3 separate regions of the Homo sapiens genome follow, and all the other regions are linked to region 1. Evidence: promoter capture Hi-C in 16 types of primary human blood cells and fetal thymus (Javierre and others, 2016). All regions are on one chromosome and are shown on one strand. The core of a region is centred on a gene start or on the middle of the fragment in contact, and the rest is flanking DNA. Distances in the headings are between cores, read along the strand shown.

Region 1 (3,552 bases), core at 148-2,647:
GTGGAAAATGACTCGGAGGTGATGTGCCCTTAACGCATTTTTATCGGGGCACACGGCATCAATATCTCCCCTTGCCAGTAATACTAACTTTGATCTGGTTACGGTGGTGTCTGCTAGGTTTCTTCGCAGTAAAGTCAATCCTCTTAACATGCAGACACTCCTGGAAGGAGAACCAAATCCTTCCTCACTGAAGAGCAGCTACTGTGGAATGAAACTTTGGAGTTAGATCATCGTTGAATCCAGCAAGCTACAGTGCCTGGGAGAAACAGCATTTATAAAGTATCGAGGTTACCGATACTTCCCTGAAGCTACCGGAGATAACGTTATGTGCGTGTTCAGCACAGTAATGTGGCACAGGGTTCACTAAACGGCAGCATGTTTTAACAGAAGTTATTTACTCCTAGAGGACCCAGAAACGTTTGCGGCCTGCCGGAACAGGACAACATAGGGCTCTGGGAAGAGTCCCCCTTTCAGAGGTGAGAACAAGACAGAACACACAGATGTGAAGTGCCTTCTGCTAGGTAACGCGAGGCGGGGCTGAGCTCGGATTCTAAAGACTCCCAGGCCAGCCCTAACCAATTCATCTCCGAGCTTGCACGGCATCTTACCCGGAGACTCGAGGTACCTGACTCCAGCCCCACCCCAGGCCTGCCCGATCCCGAAGCGCATTTTGGCCCTGGGCCTCTCTCTGGCTCAGTCTGGGCGCAAAGCGGGTCTCAGCAACCGTCCCACTTGCCTTCATACCCTCCCACCACGCTCCACTCAGGGACTCCAGAACCAGCTTAGACCTCCATTGAGAGCTGAAAGCCTCTTCCGATACCGAGAACCAGCACTGAAAGCCTCTTCCGATACCGAGAACCAGCATGGTTTTTGTTTTGTTTTGTTTTAGTCAGGGTCTCTTGCTCTGTCGCCCAGGCTGGGGTGCAGTGGCGCAATCTCGGCTCACTGCAGCCTCGAACTCCTGGTCAGGCGATCCTCCTACCTCAGCCTCTGGAGTAACTGGAACTACACGAGCGCGCCACCACGCCCGGCTAATTTTGTTTATTTTTTAGTAGAGAAGGGGTCTCTCCATGTTGCCCAGGCTGGTCTCGAACTCTTGGGCTCAAGCAATCCTTCCGACTCGGCCTCCCAAAGTGCTGGAATTACAGGCGTAAGCCACCGCGTCCAGCCAGAACCAGCATCTTTTCTGCACGGCTGGAGTTGGGAATTTTCCACAGCTTAGCGCACTGCTCCTTAGCTTTTCGCTTTGCCACAGTGGAAAGCAGATTTTCCAAGAATCCTGGCGGAGCCAAGATCGGCTCGCCCGCCCCCGCCTCACGCTGGCTCCTGATAGGCAGCTAGAGCTGTCCGTTTTGACAGAAACCTTTGCGCAGGCGCAGAAAGGCACAGGACTCGCTAAGTGTTCGCTACGCGGGGCTACCGGATCGGTCGGAAATGGTGAGCGTGCGCCGGGGTCTTGTGGCTGGCGGCCGCCCACCACCCCACGCCAGGCCTTCAGTCTTCCGAGGATGAGGGGATCTCAGAGCTCCGGACAGGGAATCGGTGGTGGCTGGGCGTGGCCGGGCCCGGGCCCCAGCCGACTTGAGGGTGGAACCCGGCGGCGGAGGCCTCTAAAGCCTGACCGAGGCGGGGCCGCCGGATCCCGCTGCCCCTTGACCGGAAGCGGGAGCCCAGCCTCGGCCAGGAAGAGATGATGGGCGAGGGGTGGGCGGCGGCCCTGCAGCCTAGAGTTTTGGGGCCTTGGTGCGCGATGGCAACCCTGGCAACGTTTCCCGGGAGCTCAGTTTGTGGCAGGCTCTGCCAAGCACTTTATGTATCTTGTATTTCCTCCGCCTCCTCCCAGCTCTGTGAGGTAGATACAATCTTTAGTCCCATTTTGTTATACATATCTGTTATTCAGCGCCCCGAGAAGCCAAGTGCTTTGCCCCAGGAAATAGTGGAGATGGATTTGAACCCTAGAAGCTTGACGGCCGCCACTCTGTCGGCGTGGTTCTTTCTAGCCGCTGGGACTGGGTGCCAGAGTCAGGAACGGGCGGGGTCTGCTCTTGGGGATCCCAAAGCTTGCTTTCTACCTTGCTTGCTGCAGCTGTGGGTTCTCAACGCCGTTACAGGTTTTGTGTTTGTAATCCTCACAGCTTGGGCAAAATTTGAAAAAGTTTCAAATTTTAAGCCATGTGAATATATTACTTTTTCAAAAATCTTATTTAGAAATCTAGAGCTTGTAATAAAAAAATTGAAAAAAGAAACCGTGTCATCACCTAGAGGCAACCACTTACAGTAGTCATATGACTTCTAGTCTTTTTTGCTTGTTTTTGGTTTATACAGTTTAGCCCCTATTGAATGTGCAATTGTGGGTTCTGTGTTTTTCATTATTACACCACAATATCTCCACATCATTACAAACATGTAATAATGCTTCAAATATGTATAACTTCATTTTTCACATCACTTCTTAAGCTGTAAAAAAAATTGATATATAATAGTTGTACACATTTATGTTGTAGATATACATGTAATATTTTGATACATGCATATGATGTGTAATGATCAAATCAGGCTATATTTATTATAGAATATCCATCACCTTAAACATTCATTATTTCTTTTTTTTTTTTTTTTTTTGAGATGGAGTGTGTCTCTGTCGCTCAGGCTGGAGTGCAGTGGCACCATCTTAGTTCACTGCCACCTCCGCCTCCCAGGTTCAAGTGATTCTCCCGCCTCAGCCTCCCGAGTAGCTGGGACTACAGGCGCCCACCACCACGCCCAGCTAATTTTTTGTATTTTTAGTAGAGACGGGGTTTCACCGTGTTAGTCCGCCTCAACACGGTGGTCTCGATCTCCTGACCTCGTGATCTGCTCGCCTCAGCCTCCCAAAGTGCTGGGATTACAGGCGTGAGCCACCACGCCTGGCCCACATTTTCTTTATCCATTTACCTATTGATGGACGCTAATTCCATAATTTAGCTATTATGAATAGTGCTGCAATATGAACATGAGGATGTAGGGATGCCTTTGATGTACTAATTTCCGTTCCTTTGAATAAATACCCAGTAGTGGTATTGCTGATTTATGGTAGGTTTTTTTTTTCGTTTTTGTTGTTGTTTTTGTTTTGTTTTGTTTTTTCGATGCCTTTGTCGAAAATCAGTTGGCCGTAAATAAGTGGATTTATTTCTGGGTCCTCTATTCTATTCCATTGGTCTGTGTTTTATACCAATACCATGCTCTTTTGGTTACTATACCTTTCTGGTATATTTTGAAATCAGGTAGTGTGATACCTCAAGCTTTGTTCTTTTCGTCCAGGCTTCTTTTGGCTTTTCTGAGTCTTTTGTGGTTCCATACGAATTTTAGGATTGTTTACAGGTAATACTTGCACACAGTAAAAAAATAAATGATGTAAAAGGATCTAAGTGAAAAATAAAATTCCCACTCTCCTAACCCCCAGTCTCAGTCTCTCCTCCTTTAGAAACAACCATTGTTAGTTTCTTTTTTTTTTTTTCTTGCAAACTTGACCCTCCTGGGCTCAAGTGATCCTCCTGCCTTAATTCCCCAAGT
Region 2 (3,611 bases), core at 31-2,530, 260 kb after region 1:
AACCAGAGCTCTAATAAAAACAATAACTGGTGGAGGCAAAATGCCAGAAAAAAATGCAGCAGAAATGCCTGGTTAAAGGTGCTGAGATAATGCACATGTAGTGGAGTTCTGAGCCAGCGGGGCTGCCATTATGGTGGGCACAGGAAGAAATGCAACCTGTCATGAACTGAGAGCCACACAAGGCTGGGGGATGCACGTCAGGAAGGCATACGAATATACACTCTCATTCTTAATTTTAATAGAGCTGAAAAGACTCCCACACATGCAACAGCTGAGTGAAAAGCTTTTTCTTGTTGATAATTATAATTCTATTTCTACTATTCCAGCTCCTCTTACCTAAGAAAAAAAATCACATATTAATAAACAGAATTTCCACACTATACTGCTATCATTCCCCTATTTACCAACTGCATATATGCTAATTTGTGTCAAAGAGAACACTACCGGCTCCCAAACTTGCCAATTAGGGGTCCACAAACTACGTCCTGTGGGCCAAATGCAGCCCACTGCATGTTTATTTAAATAAAGTGTTACTGAAATCCTGCCATGTTTACTTGTTTACATATCGCCTATGGCTGTTTTTGCCCTACAAGATGGAACTGAGTACTTGTTGAGTTGAGATCTTATGGCCTGCAAAGCCAAAAATATTTATTCTTGGCCCTTTACAGAAAAAGTTAGCAGACTACTCTTTAGATCACCATGAATTTACAGAGGGGGCACAAAATGTCCTCAAAAAAGATGTTTCCCCAATTCCCTGGCCAAAACTTAAAAAAGGAAGGGTACAGGAAGTATTTGTCAATGGAGAACGGACTGTTGGGAGAACCTGTCCCTCAAGCCTTGCAGCAGACACGATAGTGGCAACATTGCTTCATTCCTTCTTTTTTGTTGTTGTTGTTTTGAGACAAAATTTTGCTCTTGTCGCCCAGGCTGGAGTGCAGTGGCGTGATCTCGGCTCACCGCAACCTCCACCCAGGAAAATTTTGCTCGACACCCAGGCTGGAGTGCAGTGGCATGATCTCGGCTCACCGCAACCTCCACCTCCTGGGTTCAAGCAATTCTCCTGCCTTAGCCTCCCGAGTAGCTGGGACTATAGGCACGCCCCACCATGCTCGGCTAATTTTTATATTTTTAGTAGAGACGGGGTTTCACCATGTTGGCCAGGCTGGTCTCAAACTCCTCCCCTCAAGTGATCCACCCACCTTGGCCTCCCAAAGTGTTGGGATTACAGGTGTGACCCACCGTGGCTGGCCAACATTCTTCTTACAACTTACAAAATCAACAGCCCAGTTCCACAAAAGCAATAGCTGCTGCCATCACTTTCACTCCTGCTGAATTCCCAGGAGCATGGGAACAGAGATCATCTGGGACACACATGTAGCCTAAAAGTTAAAGAACTCTTTCTGTATTGTGATAATCATTGTCATATGTGAATTTCATAATTTCTTAAAATATGTTATCTATTTGCTTCCTTGCTAGTACTCATGTTTAAATTTATGGCTATAATGTTAAGGGAGAACCAGCATTATATTGTTTTAGGAAGTAGGTCTGCTTAAGAAATAAAACTGGTACTTCTTTCTCCAGTGAAAAACACTATCAATTAAGGTTTTGAAGCCTTTAAATAGGTAACAGAGACCAAAAAACATGTGGGGTTTTAAAGAAACCACTTATGTATTCCTTAAAGTATAAACAGCCCACATATTGTTATTTTATCCAATAGTTGTTCGACTTCCACTTTTCCTAATAGTTCATCCTACAGATTGCTGTGAATTAATTGTACTTTTCTGGATCCTTTTAGATAGTTCCACATTTTTCAAATTAAAGTGGTATTGCTTAAGCCACTATTCTCTCATTTATCAAATGGTGAAAATTATCCCATTTCTCAATCTACATATAACCCTTTCTAAATAATTTGTTTGTTGGTATTGCCCCTTTGAGGGCACAGCAACCTACAATGCTAGACTGCATAAAATGTGTCTCACTCCTATAAACAAAATGACCTCGACTGCTCAGGTTTCATGGAGCAATTAGGTTCTACGTAAGCACAGGGCCAGGAGGACCTGGACTAAAGTGGAAGGGAAAGCTGGAATTGCTGGTTGTCACCTGGCTGTATCAACACAGGAGGGGAAGAGAGGGTTCTAGTTCACTGAGCTTCCAAAGAGCTCCCCCACACATGGTAGGTACTTACATCTCTCACAGGTTTGTCTTCCTTACTAAAGTCATAAGCTCTTCCGAGTTTATAACAATAAGGACAATATTTATCATTGTATTCCAAATGCTAAAGCTTATAGTCTATGGGGATAAAACAATAATCAAATAATTGCTCTATGAAAGTGTGAGATAAATGATCTGAGGGAGAGAAACAAACTTTTGTGAGAGCACATAGCAAAGGACTCTGACTTGCCAAAGGAGTTCAGAAAATACATCCTCAAGATTTAAGCTGATACTTGAAGGCTGAGCAGGCATGAACTAGGGGAAGGGGGTTGGTAGGGAATAGTATTTCATTTAGAGAAGACATCAATGCAAAGGACCTGTGGCAGGAGGAAGAGAAAGCTGAGAAGCTGGAACACAGGGGGCAAGGGAGGAAAGTTACACAAGATAAGGCTGGATGAGGAAGGTAGAGGTGAGACCATGCAAAGCCTGAGGTCATGGTAAGGAGTTTGGTCTTCATTCTTTGAATAATACCAAGAGATAGCAGGATTTTAATCTAGGGGTGTAGGGTTATAGGGGTGTAGGTGTGTGTGTGTGTGTGTGTGTGTCTGTGCGTGCGTGCACGTGCTCATCAAATTCTCATTTTGAAAAAGATCATTCTGGTAAAAATACTGAAAATGAACACTGCGGGCCGGCGTGATGGCCTGTAATCCCAGCACTTTGGGAGGCCGAGAGGGTGGATCACCTGAGGTCAGAAGTTTGAGACCAGCCTGGCCAAGACGGTGAAACCCCATCTCTACTAAAAATACAAAAATTAGCTGGGCATGGTAGTACATGCCTGTAATACCAGCTACTCAGGAGGCTGAGGCAGGAGAATCACTTGAACCTGGGAGGTGGAGGTTGCAGTGAGCTGAGATCATGCCACTACACTCCATCCTGGGACTCTGTCTCAAAAAAAAAAAAAAAAAAAAGAAAAAAAAAAGAAAAGAAAATGAATGCTGCTACAAAAGGAAAGGACTGTTGAAGGCTTCATAATCTGTTAGACGAATAAAGAAAATACTAAAGTTTATTTGGTGGAAGGAAGGAAGCAAATTAAATTATATGTTAAGCTGGGTACAGTGGTATAGGTGTAGTCCCAGCTACTCAGGAGGCTGAGATGGGAGGATCATCTGAGGCCAAGAGTTTGAGTCCAGCCTGGGCAACACAGAAAGACACTGTCTCTAAAAATAACAACAATAACAAAGAAAACCACACAACTAAATAAATAAATAAGACAAATCAATTCCTGGTCAGGATGCCAATAAAATCAAAGTCTGAAAGACTGATGGTCAAAATTAGCCAAAGGAATGGAGTCCAAGGCTACAGATGCTAAAGACCATCAGGACCCAGCAATAACCTCAGTCAGTCCCTCTTCATCCTAAGGTGCTGCAAAGCAAAGTACAAGTTACATGAGTTGCTTGGCA
Region 3 (4,083 bases), core at 329-2,828, 330 kb before region 1:
TACCCGTAAAGGCATCATGAAGAAGCTATAGTCAGACACTTAAAGGATGGGTAGGACTTGAAAAGGCGGAATGTAGGGAAGAGGCTGATGAGGAATCCACATATGCAAAGTTCTGAAAGCAAGAATGAGCAGACCACTTGGGAGATGGGAGGACATCTGGACTGGAACTAGACTAAATGTTGAAAACAATGAAAGATTCGGCAGAGACAAATGATGAAATGTTCTGCCAGAGTGAAGCATTTGGGTTTGATCAGATAGATCAGGGGTTGGTAAACTACATCAGCAAGCAGGCCAAATCTGGCCCACCCCGTTTTTTCGTAAATAAAGTATTACTGGACAGTCGTGCCCACTTGTTTACAAACCTTTGTGGCTGCTTTTGGACAAGTAGAGTTGAGTAGCTGTCACAGAGACCTTATAACTCACAAAGCCTTTATAGAAAATTTGATCAAACAACAAGACAATATAAAATCCTCTAATAAGGAAGAGAACTGAAGTTTTATTGGAGACCATTTTTCAAAATCTGATATATTTACAACTTCCTAAAGCTCCAAAGCAGGTTTAGAAAACTTCAATCGAAATATTTTCTGGGCCGTGCGCGGTGGCTCACATCTGTAATCCCAGCACTCTAGGAGGCCGAGGCGGGCGGATCAGAAGGTCAGGAGTTCAAGACCAGCCTGGCCAACATGGTGAAATCCCATCTCTACTACAAATACAAAAATTTGCTGGGTATGGTGACACATGCCTGTAATCCGCGCTACCTGGGAGGCTGACGCAGGAGAATCATTTGAATCCAGGAGGCAGAGGTTGCAGTGAGCCAAGACTGCGCCACTGCATTCCAGCCTGGCGATGGAGCGAGACTCTGTCTCAAAAAAAAAAAAAAAAGAAATACTTTCCTAGTTTGCAGAGACTGTGCCTTAAGGCATAATTTAGGTTGAAATGAATCTCATTGTTGCGCTTCAGCAGTTTTGCATCATTATTTGTTTTTCTCTGGTGTGCCTTTGTTTCCTAATATTTCACAAACCAGTTGGGCCAATTATCTTCCACACAATTAAAACAGTTTGTGCCATCCAGCTGTTTCTCCTTAATCTTGGGCACTTTACATGATGCTGTTTGCCCTCCTCACTAAAGCTCTCTCATTCTATGGTGGGGGCACTTTCAAATTAACATTCCCGGCAAACTTTTTGCAGGGTTTAAATTTTTCTGAGCAATATCTTCTCCCCTATATTGACAGTCCATGAGCACCCTCAGGTTCAATAAAGTGTTCCTTATACTCATTTTTTATTTCACACATGAACACTCAGCAGAAGAAACAGGTAAGATTATTATACCTAGGAGAGTTGTACCTAGGGGAAAAAATGTAACATTTAAGATGATTGTCACATTTAAGAGGGTGTCTAGATTCTTGGCATCTTGAATAAAGAATTGGACAAAATGCACAAACAAAGCAAGGAAGGAATGAAGGGATTTATTGAAAATGAAAGTACACACTCCACAGTGTGGGAGCAGGTACGAGCGTAGGGGCTCAAGGGCCCCATTACAGAATTTTGGGGAGTTTAAATACCCTCTAGAGGATTCTATTGGTTACTTCAGGTATGCCCTATGCAAATAGAGAGGATGAAGTAAAGATACAAAGCTATTTACTTGGCCTATGCCCTATGGAGAGGATATTTCCTGTCCTAGCTGAAGTGGGAATTGGCCTTATGTTCCCTGCCTCTAGACCCTATTTTCCTGCCTCAATGATTACAAAATGTTCCCCCTAAAAAAAACTTTCATTTATTGACATTTGTGCCCCCAGATTCCCACACCTTCATAATCAATTAATGTTTATTGAGATCTTTCTTTTTTCTTTTTTACTTTTTTTTTCCCCCAAGACGGAATCTTGCTCTGTCACCCAGGCTGGAGTACAGTGGTATGATCTCAGCTCACTGCAACCTCTGCCTCCCAGGTTCAAGCGATTCTCCTGCCTCAGCCTGCTGAGTAGCTGGGATTAAAGGCGTGCACCACCATGCCCAGCTAATTTTTGTAGAAACGGGGTTTCACCACGTTGGCCAGGATGATCTTAAACTGACCTCAAGTGATCTGCCCACCTCGGCCTCCCAAAGTGCTGGGATTACAGGCATGAGCCACCGTGCCTGGCCTAAAAAATTATTCATGGAACCAGGACTCCTTAGAGAAATGGTTAACTCAATGAACTGATTGAACATCCCAAATCCAAAAGCCAAAATGCTCCAGTGAGCTTTTCCTTTGAGCTTCATGTCAGCACTTACAAAGCATCAGCTTTTGGAACATTTCAGATTTTCAGATTAGTGATTCTCAACTTGTATCAATCACTTGATCTTCCTCGTCCTTTGGTAAACAAGCCAAAGGTCCCATATAGGATGTCTCTGAATTTCGCCGAAAAACTGGGTTGCCAATGTTGATGGAAATGTGAAAAGTGAATGGGACTTTCCAACATATAGAAGTATATAATAGCCTGATATATTGGAAAGAGCACTGGGAAAGACATCAAAAGACACCCAACTATACTTCACAGTTCTGCCACTAACTAATCACTTAATTGCTTTAGGCTAAATTTGTTTTGGTTTTTTAAAAATATGTAAAATAAAAGTTATATACTGTATTATCTCCAAGAACTTTTTTTTTTTTTTTTAAACAAAGTCTGTCTCTGTCACCCAGGCTGGAGTGCAGTGGCATGATCATGGCTCACTGCAGCTTTGACTTACTGGGCTCAAGCAATTCTCCCCACCTCAGCCTCCAGACTAGCTGGGACCACAAGCATGTGCCACCACGTCTGGCTAATTTATTTATTAATTGTAGAGGCAGGTCTCATTATGTTGCCCAGGCTGGTCTCAAAGTCATGGCCTCAAGTAATTCTCCCACTTTGGCCTCCCAAAGTGCTCAAATTATAGGTGTGAGCCACTGAGCCCTACCAGAGCTCTTCTAATAATAAAGTTCTGTGAAGTAGAAATGAAGATAAAATTGGAAATGTTTTGCCTAGCCAAAGTCCCTATGCCCAACATGGTCATATGTGCTCAAGGATAGACAATAAAAAGTATTTAGAGTGCTTATCTATCTTATTTATCCATAGAGAGTGAACAAAGCCTCCCTGGCTTAGGAATATCTCCTCTGGTGTCTGGAGAGCTCCTGGAGCTATGAAGGAAATGGCACCAGGAGCTCCAGAAGACTCAGGAAAGCTTTCAAATCCAATGGGATGACTATACAGGTCAGTAAAAGAAAAAGTACAGAGGAAAGAAAATCCTTTTGTGTGTATCACATTCTGTGCTAATTACTTTATATAACTATCTCATTTACTCTTTGCTTATGATGTAGGTTTACTGTTCCCATTTTAAAAACACTTTTTGCATCAATGAGAAACTGAGGCTCTCAGAGTTTAAATGATTTGGAAGTCTGTGCACTGTCCATATTCCATTCCATCTCTGTCCAGAGAGTCAAATTCTTTCATGAAATATTTCTACCCCTTCTGCAGAACCTTCTCTGACCATTCTGGCCCACAATGACTTCTTCTTCTGAGCTTCTCTAGTGCTTATTACCTGTACCACCAATTTCACAGCTGTAACTCTTTGGAACGTTGCTTATATTTGATTTATATATCAATCAGTAAGCATTTATTGAACAACCACCATAGACCCCCTAGGCAGTGGGGATACACAGGTGAATAAGACACAGCCCTTGAACTCAGGAGTTAAAATCTAATAGAGGAAACAACACCACTGGTAGTGAATAAACACCCTGGGCTGGGCACAGTGGCTCACGCCTGTAATCCCAGCACTTTGGGAGGCCAAGGCAGGCAGATCACCTGAGGTCAGCAGTTGGAGAGCAGCCTCGCCAATATGGTGAAACCCCGTTTCTACTAAAAATAAAAAAATTAGCCAGATGTGGTGGCGGGTGCCTGGAATCCCAGCTACTTGGGGTGCTGAGGCATGAGAATCGCTTGAACCCGGGAGGCTGAGGTTGCAGTGAGCCGAGATCATGCTATTGTACTCCAGCCTAGGCGACAATAGCTAAACTCTGTCTCAAACAACAACAACAAAAAAAAAACAGTTTATAAACACCCCAATCCAT

Evidence for each region. The method cuts DNA at HindIII sites, captures the fragments that hold promoters and counts their contacts. A CHiCAGO score of 5 or more calls a contact.
Region 2: a fragment that was not itself captured here is called in contact with the fragment with the promoter of DYNLRB1 in region 1 in 1 of 17 cell types (megakaryocytes); the score reaches 5.0 in megakaryocytes.
Region 3: a fragment that was not itself captured here is called in contact with the fragment with the promoter of DYNLRB1 in region 1 in 1 of 17 cell types (M2 macrophages); the score reaches 5.4 in M2 macrophages.

What each region holds. Positions count from the first base shown.
Region 1 is chr20:34,515,025-34,518,576 of GRCh38, forward strand. It overlaps DYNLRB1 (dynein light chain roadblock-type 1), which reads left to right and starts at 1,398. Exons shown (of 4, transcript NM_014183.4): 1 at 1,398-1,437. The coding sequence starts at 1,435. RefSeq lists enhancers at 420-479, 590-829, 1,218-2,083, 1,750-1,929 and a silencer at 1,290-1,399. The HindIII fragment of the contact is 8,760 bases long and covers 1-1,960 here.
Region 2 is chr20:34,772,574-34,776,184 of GRCh38, forward strand. The region is part of intron 4 of NCOA6 (nuclear receptor coactivator 6); the gene reads right to left. Among named protein-coding and RNA genes, the nearest start is that of NCOA6, 51 kb to the right of the region's middle. The HindIII fragment of the contact is 1,998 bases long and covers 282-2,279 here.
Region 3 is chr20:34,180,056-34,184,138 of GRCh38, forward strand. No RefSeq gene overlaps it. Among named protein-coding and RNA genes, the nearest start is that of ASIP, 59 kb to the right of the region's middle. The HindIII fragment of the contact is 3,228 bases long and covers 1-3,192 here.